Regions from separate parts of the Homo sapiens genome. Here region 1 is linked to region 2. The links are contacts of gene promoters, found by promoter capture Hi-C in blood cells and fetal thymus (Javierre and others, 2016). All regions are on one chromosome and are shown on one strand. Each heading gives the region's core, a stretch centred on a gene start or on the middle of the fragment in contact. The rest is flanking DNA. Distances are from core to core; before and after follow the strand shown. Region 1 holds the start of GRIPAP1 (GRIP1 associated protein 1). Region 2 holds the start of FOXP3 (forkhead box P3).

Region 1 (2,700 bases), core at 152-2,651, 260 kb after region 2:
GCTGGCAATACTTTTCTTTTTCTTTCTTTTCTTGGAGACAGAGTCTCGCTCTATCCCCCAGGCTGGAGTGTAGTGGTGCGATCTCGGCTCACCGCAACCTCTGCCTGGCGGGTTCAAGCGATTCTCGTGCCTCAGCCTTCCGAGTAGCTGGGATTACAGGCGCCCACCACCACACCCGGCCAATTTTTGTGTTTTTAGTAGAGATGGGGTTTCACCATGTTGGCCAGGTTAGTCTCGAACTCCTGACCGCAAGTGAACAGCCCTCCTTGGCCTCCCAAAGTGCTGGGATTACAGGCGTGAGCCACCGCGCCCGGCCCTGCTGGAAATATTTTTCCACAGCAGGGAAATCATTAAATTCTACGAAAATAAGAAGGCTGGGCGCGGTGGCTCACGCCTTAATCCCAGCACTCTGGGAGGCCGAGGCGGGCGGACTACCTGAGGTCGGGAGTTCGAGACCGGCCTGACCAATATGGAGAAACCCCGTCTCTACTAAAAAAAAAAAAAAAAATTACCCGGACGAGGTGGCGGGCGCCTGTAATCCCAGCTACTCGGGAGGCTGAGGCAGGAGAATCGCTTGAACTCGCCAAGCGGAGGTTGCTGTGATCGGATATCGTGCCACTGCACTCCAGCCTGGGCAACAAAAGTGAAACTCCGTCTCAAAAAAGAAAAACAACAACAACAACAACAACAAAAACAGAAAGAAAAAAGAAAATAAGAAAAAAACTACACTGAGATACCATTTCTTACTCTCAGATCGGTGAGGGTTATAGTGAATTCTAATACTTGAATGAGCCTGGTGTTTCACCACCCTGGTTTGTTTTTTGTTTTTGTTTTGTTTTAATGTAGCTTTTTCGTTTGATTCACTGTCACTCTTTCCACTCTGCTATTTTTATTGGTGGCTAAGTCCTTTACCTAACGTGACATGCAGTATCATGATAACAAAATAAGTGTCAAACCTTAAAAAAAAAAAAAAAAAAAAAGGCCAAAGGCTTTACAAGAGGTGGGATTCCCCTTTGGGGTCTCCCGGAGGAGGGGCGGGAACAAGACCAGAGCGAAGCTTCCGCTTTCATTTCTATGGTTATTAAGTTACCCATTCTCATTAAAGGAATACCGCGGAAGGGTGATTTTCTGTCGGCAAAGACTTCCCTAGCGACGAGTCCACCCATGAAACGGGGATGTAATAATGTCGTATCACAATGGGTGGCCTAGAAGAGTCCAAAAGCCAATCAGATGACTTACATTCGGGTAGAACGTTGTATTACAGTTCACCTGACTCGTCGGTTTCGTTCTCTTCTCTGCGTCTCCAAAATGCTGCCCTTCGGAATTAGGTTCTACCCCCTCCATTCCTGGCCAGTGGTTTGGTCCGACCTTAATACTGCCAGGAGGCGCGAGCTGCGTCTGCGCAGAAAGCTGGCGGGGGGGTGGGGGGAGGAACATGGCGCAAGCTCTGTCTGAGGAGGAGTTTCAGCGGATGCAGGTGCCGCTCGCGGTGGGAAAGACCACCCGGCTAGGCGACCGGGGGCGGGGTAGCGAGAGGTCGTGCTATCAGCTCTGAGAAGGGGTTGGTTGGGATGGACCCTGAGTTTATGGGGTGGGTCTGGAGAAGGGAAACTGAGGCTCGGAGTGGTGAGACTATTGGATTCCGAGATACTCTGCGGCTTTGAAGGTTGGACTCTGTTAGCATTGTGGGCTGGGAGAGCGCCATTAAGTAGGCGGTACCTTACTCAGACCTGGAGGGGACGAGACTTTTGGGCCCGTGCAGGGGACACCGTCGGCGGGTGATGATAATGGGCTTTGAGGGAAGGAGATCCTGAGAAGGCGAAACCATTTTGTCTGGAGAGGAAGGAAGCGGGTGTTGGGTCGTTTGCGTCATGGTGGTGGGAGCCCTTGAGAGGGCAGAACCATTAGCGGGTGGGAGGTGGTAAGTTTTGGGGGAGATACCACTGTGCCCGGGGATTGGGGAAAGACCCCAGATGTTGTCATTGTTCCTGGGAGGTGGAGATCCTGTGCCATTGGTGGTTGGTAGTGCATCCTAAGAGGGGGCGGCACCATTGGATGATTAAGGGTGATCCCATTAGGCCTGGGGTGAAGAAGGCCATGAATGGGTAATACCATTAATCCCATTAACTGGGGGGAGGACCAGAGGGGTAAAAGATTGATACCTTGGACTACAAGGAGGGAAGATCACTGGGCTTTGGGGAGGTACCCCCACTTGATTCTTTTGGGGGGACTCTGAGATGCAATGAAAGGCCATAGCATTGCACTATGAATGGGCCCTTGTTGAGAGGGTTCCTCACTGGGGGGGGGGTCTGAACAGGGTCCTGCATGGGGAGGGGAGGAACTCTGAGGGAGGACAGGTAATCCAATTGGTCCTTGAATGAGGGAAACCAGCTGTCCCTGTGTGAGGGACACTGAGAATGGAAGGGCGAGTTGATTAACCCATGAATGGGGAAGACCACTGTCATCTGAAAGGGATTCTAAGTGAGTAAGAGTCATCCAACTGGCCTACCCAAGGCCTTGTAGAGGCCTACCCTGAAGGGTGTAGGGCCATTCCCAATGGATCATGACTGGGGAGATCTTGAGGGGAGTGGGAATACCCTTGAATGAGGAACATTGATCCCACTGGGCCATGAATGAGGGAGAACTACTGGGCTTTGTTGGGGGGCAAGTCTCGGGGGGTACAAAGGATATTCCACTTGG
Region 2 (2,727 bases), core at 37-2,536:
CTTGGGGATTTCAAAGCCCAGCACCAAAGAAAGCGGGACCCACACTCGCCAGCTCTGTGATCTTGGGCAAGTTGCTTGACTACTTATACCTCCGTTTCCCTCATCTGTATAACAGGAATACAATAATGATGAGATGGAGCTCAAGGGGCCATGGTGAGGATTGAACATGATCACTTGTGAGACATGTTCAGCACTGTATCTGACCCATGGAAAATTCAAGATAAACATCAGCTACTGAGATGATGGCGGATATTTGGAATCCTAAATCCTTGGAAACTGGGGCTTTTTGAAGTAAAAGACCCCAAAGGCTGAGGGCCTCAGAAGCATCAGGCCATGATGTTCCTGAAACAAGAGGGTCAGGGTCCCAATGGGCCTCTGGGGTTCATCGTGAGGATGGATGCATTAATATTGGGGACCTGCTAGGGACCTTCCCAGTGGGACAGTGGCTGGGTCAGGGCACTCAAGCCCTAAAACGTGATGAGGCGAGACTTTTCTCTCTTTCCTCATTCAGTAACTGTCAGTAGATTCTGGGAGCCAGGGATTCTCCGACTCTTCAAGTCCATGAATTTTAGGGGATGACAGTGGGCTCTCCGCTTTCTCCTCCATGAAGTAACTTACATGCCCCTCACCCTCTGTGGGAGGGGTGTTGCAGGGGGTGCAGAACTCCCCTCGCCGGGTAGTTCAAGCAATGGGGACCATATCAATTCCATCTATAGGGAAACTGAGGCCTGGAGTAGGGCGAGGCCTCTGGGAACCCAGCCCTATTCTGTCTCTTTCCCTGGCATTTCCCATCCACACATAGAGCTTCAGATTCTCTTTCTTTCCCCAGAGACCCTCAAATATCCTCTCACTCACAGAATGGTGTCTCTGCCTGCCTCGGGTTGGCCCTGTGATTTATTTTAGTTCTTTTCCCTTGTTTTTTTTTTTTCAAACTCTATACACTTTTGTTTTAAAAACTGTGGTTTCTCATGAGCCCTATTATCTCATTGATACCTCTCACCTCTGTGGTGAGGGGAAGAAATCATATTTTCAGATGACTCGTAAAGGGCAAAGAAAAAAACCCAAAATTTCAAAATTTCCGTTTAAGTCTCATAATCAAGAAAAGGAGAAACACAGAGAGAGAGAAAAAAAAAACTATGAGAACCCCTCCCCACCCCGTGATTATCAGCGCACACACTCATCGAAAAAAATTTGGATTATTAGAAGAGAGAGGTCTGCGGCTTCCACACCGTACAGCGTGGTTTTTCTTCTCGGTATAAAAGCAAAGTTGTTTTTGATACGTGACAGTTTCCCACAAGCCAGGCTGATCCTTTTCTGTCAGTCCACTTCACCAAGGTGAGTGTCCCTGCTCTCCCCTACCAGATGTGGGCCCCATTGGAGGAGATGGCAGGGAGGTAGGCACGGCGGGGGGGTCAGGGGCCCTCTGGTACAGTGGGATGTACCCAGCTACCGTGATTCCAGCCAGGTAAGGTCTTTAAAAAAATAATAGAATAAATGGCAGAAGACTTAAAGGTGAAGTACTTAATGCATGGGCAGGGGCAAAAATAAATGAATTCATCAATTGATACGTAGATGGATAGGATTTTTAAAATATGTCAGCTGCCAGTCTTTATGGATTTCAGAGCTTTGAACAACTTGAAATGCTGTCCAGGTGCAACTGAAAATTTCAACTGCATCTCTCTCATCTCTTTGTCTCTTAGCTCTTGATGCCTCTCATCCTTCTCTGTCTCTCTGCTCACCCTGTCTTGCTCTTTTACATGTTTCTCTGCCTCTCTTTCTCCCGCCATCTGTCTGTCGCTACACTCAGACTCTCTTTCCCCGCATCTCTCCTGGCCTCTGACCATCTCCCCTATCTCTGTCTCCTCCATCTTGACCACACTCCATCGATCTCCTTTCCTCCATCTCTCCCGCTCTCTTTTCTTGCCTTCCCCCACCTGCCTTCCCAGCCAGCATCCAGCCTAGAGCTTTGTACACAGCTGGCGTTTAATAATAGTAATGTCGCCGAGGACCTTTACATTTTATGAGAGTGAGCATCAGTTCTGTTCACCCTAGTAGCAGGAGGATTGCAAGGTGCCGGGGCAAGCTGAGCACTTAACTGAACTTTGCTTGTATCGCTTTAGAGGAGACCCTTGGGGCGGGGGGGCAGGGAGCACTTCACACCATTGTCAACCGTAGTTTAGCTGTGTGGACCTACCCCAGGACTGCATGTGTGTGACCAGAGTCCATATTCAGGAAGCAAACAGGTTGTTCAGGGCTGGGGTGAGCTCGATTCTGCAGGCTTAGCACAGCGTTTGGCACAAAGTAAGTGCTCACGAAGTGTTAGCTATTAGTATTTCTGTAACCAAATTAGAATCATGCTATATATTGGTTTTGTTCCTGCTTTATTCAATTAACAGTAGTGTTTTTGAAGCTTACTAAAAATTGTTTGAACACATGATCTTTCATGATGGACAAGACTGTCCTCACATCAGCATGAACTTTGATTGATTTGACCAAGTGCCGATTGTTGGACATTCCGGTTGTTTCTCGTTTTTTTCTATAAACATCCCTGACTGCTTCCTTGGATTCCTGAAAAGGGAGTTGCTGGGGCAAAGGGGGCGTGCATTTTTAAAGTTTATGACCCTCTCTGCTAATTCTCCTTCCAAAAGGTTGTCCTATTTTATGCTCCCTCTACTTAAGCTAACCCTAGGTGAGTATTATTATGTTTTAATTATTTCCCAACATGAC

Evidence for each region. Contacts are between HindIII fragments. The CHiCAGO score rates a contact against its expected background, and 5 or more counts as called.
Region 1: a contact is called between the fragment with the promoter of GRIPAP1 here and the fragment with the promoter of FOXP3 in region 2, in 1 of 17 cell types (total CD8 T cells). The highest score is 6.0, in total CD8 T cells.

Annotation. Positions count from the first base shown.
Region 1 is chrX:49,000,965-49,003,664 of GRCh38, reverse strand. It overlaps GRIPAP1 (GRIP1 associated protein 1), which reads left to right and starts at 1,401. Exons shown (of 26, transcript NM_020137.5): 1 at 1,401-1,477. The coding sequence starts at 1,436. RefSeq lists a cis regulatory region at 1-10 and an enhancer at 1,283-1,392. The HindIII fragment of the contact is 9,873 bases long and covers 1,060-2,700 here.
Region 2 is chrX:49,263,269-49,265,995 of GRCh38, reverse strand. It overlaps FOXP3 (forkhead box P3), which reads left to right and starts at 1,286. Exons shown (of 12, transcript NM_014009.4): 1 at 1,286-1,335. The HindIII fragment of the contact is 2,410 bases long and covers 3-2,412 here.